3 separate regions of the Homo sapiens genome follow, and all the other regions are linked to region 1. The links are contacts of gene promoters, found by promoter capture Hi-C in blood cells and fetal thymus (Javierre and others, 2016). All regions are on one chromosome and are shown on one strand. The core of a region is centred on a gene start or on the middle of the fragment in contact, and the rest is flanking DNA. Distances in the headings are between cores, read along the strand shown. Region 1 holds the start of CD244 (CD244 molecule). Region 2 has its middle 18 kb from the start of SLAMF7. Region 3 holds the start of LOC101928372 (a long non-coding RNA gene).

The links. The method cuts DNA at HindIII sites, captures the fragments that hold promoters and counts their contacts. A CHiCAGO score of 5 or more calls a contact.
Region 2: a contact is called between a fragment that was not itself captured here and the fragment with the promoter of CD244 in region 1, in 2 of 17 cell types (naive B cells and total CD8 T cells). The highest score is 5.1, in naive B cells.
Region 3: a fragment that was not itself captured here is called in contact with the fragment with the promoter of CD244 in region 1 in 9 of 17 cell types (M0 macrophages, erythroblasts, M1 macrophages and 6 more); the score reaches 8.9 in M0 macrophages.

What each region holds. Positions count from the first base shown.
Region 1 is chr1:160,861,525-160,864,184 of GRCh38, reverse strand. It overlaps CD244 (CD244 molecule), which reads left to right and starts at 1,298. Exons shown (of 9, transcript NM_016382.4): 1 at 1,298-1,568. The coding sequence starts at 1,508. RefSeq lists an enhancer at 1,433-1,482. The HindIII fragment of the contact is 2,100 bases long and covers 1,271-2,660 here.
Region 2 is chr1:160,755,717-160,758,376 of GRCh38, reverse strand. No RefSeq gene overlaps it. Among named protein-coding and RNA genes, the nearest start is that of SLAMF7, 18 kb to the right of the region's middle. RefSeq lists a silencer at 1,216-1,285. The HindIII fragment of the contact is 1,098 bases long and covers 787-1,884 here.
Region 3 is chr1:160,929,832-160,932,491 of GRCh38, reverse strand. It overlaps LOC124904441 (a long non-coding RNA gene), which reads left to right. Exons shown (of 2, transcript XR_007066689.1): 2 at 315-846. LOC101928372 (a long non-coding RNA gene) reads right to left here and starts at 27. Exons shown (of 6, transcript NR_110695.1): 1 at 1-27. The HindIII fragment of the contact is 1,228 bases long and covers 656-1,883 here.

The DNA.
Region 1 (2,660 bases), core at 49-2,548:
GAGGATGTATTGTTGACCCTACAGGCTCAGACAGCAACAAGGCCAGAATCACATAGGTTGTAAGTTGCTGAATGGGAGCTGCAAGTCCAAGTCTTTGACTCTAAATCCAGCGCTCTGTCCAGAGCCCCGCTGCTGCCTCTGTTGGCAGCTGAAGCTGTCAGTCTGCTGCCCCCTGCCCAGTTCAGACAGGGTGGCTGGAAATGGACCAAAGGATGGAAAAAGAGAATAAGAGCGGACTTGAAGGGAACTGAAAGTATTTGTTAAGGGGAAAGCAGAAGGAAGAAAGAAAGAGGCATGAACCCTGGGGCCTGGCCTTGAAGCACAGTGTTCCAGGGGAGGGGGGATGCCGCTGTCCCCACCCCTCCATGGGGGCCTAAGCAGATCCAGAGCTGCCTGGCCTTCCTGGAGGGTGGCGTCCAAGCATGGATGGGAAGGCAGCAAAAATAGGCCCATGTCACTTCTGGGAGAAGACAAAAGAGGGAAGAGAGGACTACTATAGAAAAGTAGAAAAAGAGGAAGGGAGGGAATCTAGGCATACAGATCGGAAATGTGGAGCAAAACAAAATTTTTTTTTTTTTTTTTGAGACACAGTGTCGCTCTGTCACCTAGGCTGGAGTGCAGTGGCGTGATCTTGGCTTACCGCAACCTCCACCTCCTTTGCTCAAGTGATTCCCCTGCCTCAGCCTCCCAAGTAGCTTGGATTACAGGTGCACGCCACCCAGCCTGGCTAATTTCTCTATTTTTAGTAGAGGTGGGGATTCACCATATTGGCCAGGCTAGTCTCGATCTCCTGATCTCAAGTGATCTGCCTGCTTCAGTCTCCCAAAGTGTTGGGATTACAGGCGTGAGCCACTGTGCCCCGTGTGAAACAAATTCTTATGAAACAAATTTAATTTACATGTGCTTAAACTTTGGTGTCAACTTGCATGGAATCCCCAGGCTTGCTAGATTTTTCTAGTGCCTCCAGCCCTTAGGTCTCTTCCTATGTTCTCTCAGCTACTCCTCCTTTCCTTCAACACTGTTAGCCGCTTATCCAGGGCCCTACGTTTCAGCCCACTCCTCCTCCAGCCCCTCTCCACTCCACCTCCACAATGTCTGTTGGAATGGAACAGTTGGGGATACTGGCTGTTTGGCCCCCATGGGGGTCTCTCCATATAGGATTCAGAGAATTGGAAGACTTCTTGGGCTGAAGCAGAGAACGGGATGCAATTTTGAAACTGGCTTTGTGAGTCACTGTGAACTTCAAGCACCCTCCCACTTGAGGTAAGCTTCACCAGTTTGGCTTGTGGGAACTGTCAGACCAGCTCCAGGCGCTGGGGCTTTCTCAGTGGCCTTGTCAGCTCACAGCAGGCGTTAACAGCCTCTAATTGAGGAAACTGTGGCTGGACAGGTTGCAAGGCAGTTCTGCTCCCCATCGTCCTCTTGCTGACTGGGGACTGCTGAGCCCGTGCACGGCAGAGAGTCTGGTGGGGTGGAGGGGCTGGCCTGGCCCCTCTGTCCTGTGGAAATGCTGGGGCAAGTGGTCACCCTCATACTCCTCCTGCTCCTCAAGGTGTATCAGGGCAAAGGTAAGGAGGTCCTACCTGGCGTGGGGCGAGGGAGGGACTAGGAGCTGTGCCCCTCAGGGAGATCAGAGCCAGAGCCTCTGCTTGTGCCACATACACAGTCATCTGGAACTTGACTCCGAGCAGCTCCTGACAGCTCTGACAGTCTAAATCAGACAGGACAGGCTGGCAGTGCACTGGGAGGTCTGTGAGAGGGGTATCTGGCCCTGCCACCAGCAATCCAGGAAGTCTTGGGTGAGGAGATTCCTTCCCACTGGCTTCAATTTACCCTTCCGTGTAGTGGAGAGAGAAGCCTCCTTCCAGCCGCCTGTAAAGATGATGAAAATTGCATCCTCCAATTGTGGCATGAGAGAAGAGAAGCAGTCCCAAGGAAGTGGGTGGTTCTCGAGCTCAGAGACAGATGGATGGACCCCTGAGGCAGGAAAGCTGAGCCCAGGGAGGGGAGGGCGAGGCCAGCAGCCAGGAAGAAGCTGGAAGGCATGGTCCCTCATCTCCCCGGCTTCTTCAGCCATCCAGATGCCACAGGAGCCTGGAAATTATTAGGGACATGCAGGGTTGGGGCAGAAGAAGGAGACAATATGAGGAAGCTCCACAGCAAACCTAAAGCTGTCAGCCAGGCATGGAGCCATCTAACATTTACTCCTGGGGATCCCAGCTGAGGGCTGCTCCCCTCTTTCTCCAGTTCTGGGGTCCAGGATGCTCTGAAACCTGGATCCCGCATTTAATTTAATTGAATTAATTTATTTATTTCATTTTTAATTTTTATTTATTTATTTATTTTTTGAGACAGAGTCTCCTTCTGTCACCCAGGCTGGAGTGCAGTGGCGTGATCTTGGCTCACTACAAACTCTGCCTCCCGGGTTCAAGTGATTCTCATGCCTCAGCCTCCCGAGTAGGTGAAATTACAGACGTGCGCCACCATGCTTGGCTAATTTTTGTATTTTTAGTAGAGACCAGGTTTCACCATGTTGGCCAGGCTGGTCTTGAACTCCTGACCTCAGGTGATCTGCCCACCTTGGTCTCCCCCATCCAAAGTGCTGGGATTACAGGTGTGAGCCACCATGCCCAGCCAGGGTTCTGCATTTTAGATCAGTG
Region 2 (2,660 bases), core at 86-2,585, 110 kb after region 1:
ATTGCAGGAAAAAATAACTTTTATAATTAGTAAAGACAAGCAGTACCAGCATTTATTTTAAAATAATAAATTTTAAATAAATTAATCAATTAATTAATACTGCCTAGAGCAGTAATACATATGAGCCGAACAAAACAAAACAAAACAAAACAAAACAAAACAACCCACAAAACCCAATTAGACAAAAGACAATCTTGGTCTCAACTACCTCATCTATAAAATGGTTATGTTTGTTATGAAGATTAAATAAATGTACATATGTATATACATGCACACATATATATATGTATTATTTAGAACAATGATTGGCAATTGTGACTGTACTAAACATTAAATATTATAAATGATCATGTTATGGTTTATCAACTCTTCCCTGTTGCTGGCTATGTTCTTGACAGATTGCAATAAAGAGTATGCTTAGGACTATAGTCAGAACTCCAAACATCTTTAAAGTCTGTCTACAAGTACATGAACTGAGGAGGCTGGAAGTTCCTCCTTCCATCTTCTTGGGATGAAATGAGAGGGAGGTGGGCCGGGCTGCATCCTGGGCTGCAGTCTGTGATAGGCTGTCCCCACCAGGAGGGTCTTGCTCATGGGTCTCCTCATGGAGGAGGATGATCCCCATGGGCCTGGATCCTCCTCATGGGCCTGGATATCTCTGAACATATGATGAACATTGCTTATGAAAAATTATTTGTAGGAAAATTGTGAGGCCTAAGAATGTTATTTTCTTTTAGTGATGGTCTTTGTTTGCTTCTGTAAGGTACTTGTGGGCACTCGTAAGCTTGGATCTCTTTAATCTAATACCAGTTTTGAGATTTTCTTGGCCCCATAGATGAATTAAAACTGGTGTACTTCTTGTTTACAAGAAGGATAAGTCTCCTAGGGTAAGTCTTTTGGGGTCCCAAGTCAAAAAGATGAGGGATTTACCAGTTCTCTAACCTTGGTAGCCCCAGACTCCAAACTTTGTCCTTCTAGTCCCAAGAGGCTATCAAAAGCAAAGGCCCATCTTCCCACCTCCTTTTCCAGATCAGCACACATTCCCAAGACAGTACTGAAAGCAGGAACCTCCTTATCCCTTAGATACCTCTTGAGAGCATCCTTCCCTCTCTCTGCATCCTACTATGCTTGTCCAACCTACCATCACCTCTCTCCTGGATAACGGTAAGAGCCTTCTGACTCAGTTTGCCTACATCCAGTCTTGACCCCCTACAATCTGTTTCCCATACTGCAACTAATGAAATTTTAAAAGTGCAACTCTCTCTGCTGGCCACACTGACTTTCGTTCTTTTAGGTCCTCTCACCACAAGGCCTTTGCACCTCTGGCTAGAAGGGTTTTATTTTCCCTTCCCACTTCTTGTAAGTAGCTCCTACTCATCTTCCGATCTCAGCTCAGTCTTCATCACTTTGGAGATACTGTCTCTGACCACAGGAAAATTTGCCATTCTTGGCTCCACACACCTCTCTTTCATAGCAGTCATCACTGCAACCATGTTATTTAAAGGATATTTGAGTGTTGGCCTCTGTCATTAGAATGTAAGCACCCTGAGGGCAGAGACCTCTGTTGTGGCCCACTGCTGTATTCCCTGAGTTCAGCATAATGTCCAGCACTTACTGGTGCTCAATAAGTACTGCTGAATGAATAAATGAATGAATGCATACATGATCAAATGAATGAGTGAAAGCCTTACTGAAATGGTACAGATACCTTCTTTACTTTCCACCAAGGTTTCAATGTTTACGAATTTGTTATTTGCACCTCACAAGTTGCAAACCACACAGTTCTGGAGGCTGCATGTAATGGGGCTATGAGGTGGTGTGACTTCTCACCCTGAAGAGCTGGTGGTTTCCTTTGCCTACTGGTTGAACTCATGAGGGGAAGCTTCTTTCTGCAACTAGCTTTGGGACAGAATTTATTGAGTGTCCAGAGACCAGATCTATTGGTCTCCCTAGGTCCTGTTTCAGTCACTGGTTTAAAAAACCCCAAAGTATGATTAACCCTAATTATTTATCATCTGAATGGGTTCTGAGGAGAGAGGGGAAGGCAGAACAGATGCATCCTCAGTCCCAGCATCCCCCTCTCCACGCCTCTGTCTTCACACACTGTGAAGCTCCCCTCAGCCTCCAGCAGCCCTCTCTGAGGGAAAGTCATCTTCTCCTCTGTCATTATGTGGAGGGTTTCTCCTTTCTCCCCACCCATTCTCACTCGAGGAGGTCTTTCCATCCTCCCCCACACCCTTACCATGAGGGTCTCAGACTTTCCCCTCAACCCCACGTAGTGAGTAGTGCCTCGTTTTTCTCACTGAGCACCTATTTAAAATTTCCTCTACTCTATTATGCAATACATACTTTCTCATTGAGGAATATTCAGAAAATGAATGAAAATAGGAAAAAACCAAGCCACCTAAGCTTTCACCCTCCCTAAACAACTGGTGTTACTATTTTGATGTTTTTTCTTCCAAATTTTTCCCTGTAGAGATTTTTTCTAAAACACAGCTGTAATCATATAGCACATTAAATTTGCATTCTACTTTTTATATTTGTGATGTCATAACATTTTCTAACTTGAAAACCCATAGTTGTTGTGTTGTTGTTGTTTTGTGAGTCAGAGTCTCACTCTGTTGCCCAGGCTGGAGTGCAGTAGCACAATTATAGCTCAC
Region 3 (2,660 bases), core at 20-2,519, 68 kb before region 1:
CTTTGTGCCCCACTTAAAATTGGCCTAGATGAAAGCAGCAGGCTCACATGTTATATGTGTTGCTTTCAAAATCCAGAGACCAACCCTGACCCAGTATTGTTTTTCACCTTGGAAAGATCATTCTGACATAGAAAATTCACTGATATGGCATATTCTGCATATAGCCTGCCAATTCTTTGGTAATTCCCCCCACCCCACCAAATTTGGGCGGGCTTAGTGACTAAGTTTTCATGAAAAGAATATGGCAGAAGTGTGACCTCTGAGACTGCATCCTAAAAAATGATACAGCTTCTTCCTGGCTTTCTCTTTCTTAGGACTTGTGCCTTCGGATCCTGATTTATTAAGTGAGAAGTCCACTATCCTGAAGCTGCTATGCTGGAGAGACCATGTGAAAAGATCATATAGAAGTAGAAAGATGCCCAAGAAGCCATATATGCTTCTTTCTGTAGCTGTTTCAGTCTGCCCACCCAGGGATCGGACATGTTAGAGAAAGAGTCTTAAAGATTATCCCAACCCCAGCCACCATGTGACTGCAACCTCATGAAAACCCCACACCAGAACAGTGGTATCAGCTCAAACTTTGCAAGGGCTAGGAGACTGAGGGCAGCTGACCAGATTTATGTGATTGAGCCTAATAAACTGGCCTGAGTAAGCTTCCCTGGTTGACAATATTCTGCGAGTATTATCACACACTGGATGTCAGGAAATTAACACTGTCCACAACTCATGGAAAGGACAACTGGGAGTTCTGTGTTTAGAGCTTTCCTGAACTCTGCCCTATGTACCCCTTCCCTTGGCTGATTTTAACCTGTATTCTTAGCTGCAATAAACCGTAACTTTCCATGAGCACTGTGAGTTTGTCTTGTGAATTATTAAACTCACGGGTGGTCTTGGGGTCCCCCCAAGCTGACAATTAATGTCAGAGAGGAGGAGGATATTGGGGGACCCCAACCTTGCAATCGGTGTCAGAAGTGAGGGTGGTCTTGTGGGCTGCTCCTCTAACAATGTATCCAGCATAACCTTGATATGAAAATCTCACAAGAGTATCACAAGAAAAGATAATTATAAGCCAACCACCCTCATGACTGTATATGCAACAATTCTAAACAGGATATTAACAAACCTACATATGAATTTGAGAGGACATAAATGTTCAGATCATAGCATTGCTGAGCATTCTGTATGAATATAGACATAATTCAAGACCAAGACTGATGATTGCTATTGTGAGTTGAACTGTGTTCCCTAAAGTGGTATGTTAAAGTCCTAATCCAAGGTACCTGTGAATGTGACCTTATTTGGAAATGAGATTTTTGCAGATGCAACTATTTAAAATGCAGTTATAGTGGATTAGGGTGGGCCCTAATTCCAATATAACTAATATCCTTATAAGAAGAGAAGAGACACAGATGCAGAAACACACACAGATGGAAGGCAGCTGTATGAAGACGGAGGCAGAGAAGGGAGTTATGTGGCCACAAATCAATAAATACCAAGGATTGGCCAGGCATGGTGCCTCATACCTGTAATCCCAGTACTTTGGGAGGCTGAGGTGGGATGATTGCTTGAGCCCAGGAGTTTGAGACCAGCCTGGGCAAAAAATACAGTGAAACTCCATTTCTATCAAAACCAAAAGCAAACAAACAAAAAACCCAAGGATTGCTTTCTACCTGAAGCTGGATGAGGCAAGAGAAGATCCTCCTGCAGAGTCTTTGGACAGAGCACAGTCCTGCTGATGCCTTAATTTTGGACTTCTCACCTCTGAAATAGAGTAATTTCTTAAAAAGCCACCTAGGTTGTGACAATTTGTTATGGCAACCCTAGGAAACTGACACAATTGTGTCATTGTTTTTTTCTCTCTACTAGTTTTAAAATTGTAAGCTTTTTTTCTATCCTTTTAGTGGCTGCTCTAGAACTAACAGCAGGCTTCATGAATGTTTTCTAATCACAAATTTGTGTGTTTATTTCTTTTAAAAGCATTAATTGCGAGCCTATTATGTGCCAGAACATATTCTAGATGCTGGGGATATAGCAACAAGTCAGGTACACATTTCTGCCTTTCTGGAGATTGTACCCTAGTACCAGGAAATATACAATATGCTATAAAAATAAATAATAGAATGTCAAGTTTTTATTTATTTATTTATTTTTATTTTTTTAAACCAGGTCTCCTTATGTTGCCCAGCTGTTCTTGAACTCCTGGGCTCAAATGATCCCCCCGCTTCAGCCTCCCAAAGTGCTGGGATTACAGGCATGAGCCACCACACCCAGACTAGAATGTTAAGTTTGAAAAGTGCTATGGAGAAAAAGAAAGTTGAGTAGCGACATAGATATATTGGGGGTGGTGGTGGTTTACAACTTTAATAGATCTTTAAAGAAGACTTCAGTGAGAAGGTGACATTGAGGAAGGATCTGAAGAAGGTGAGGGATTGAGCCATAAAGTACCAGGCAGAGGGAATAGCAACTGCCAAGGTATTGAGATGGGAGTATCTTCACTGCGTTCAGGGAGCTGCAGGGAGATTTGGCTAGCAGAAGCTGCATAAGTATGGAGGAAAGCAGCAGGTCATGACAGCACAAAGGTAAGATGGGAGCAGATTGTGTAGGATATTGTGGGCCTTCTGGGCAAGACTAGAAGCCTTCAGAGAGGTCTGAGTAGGAGG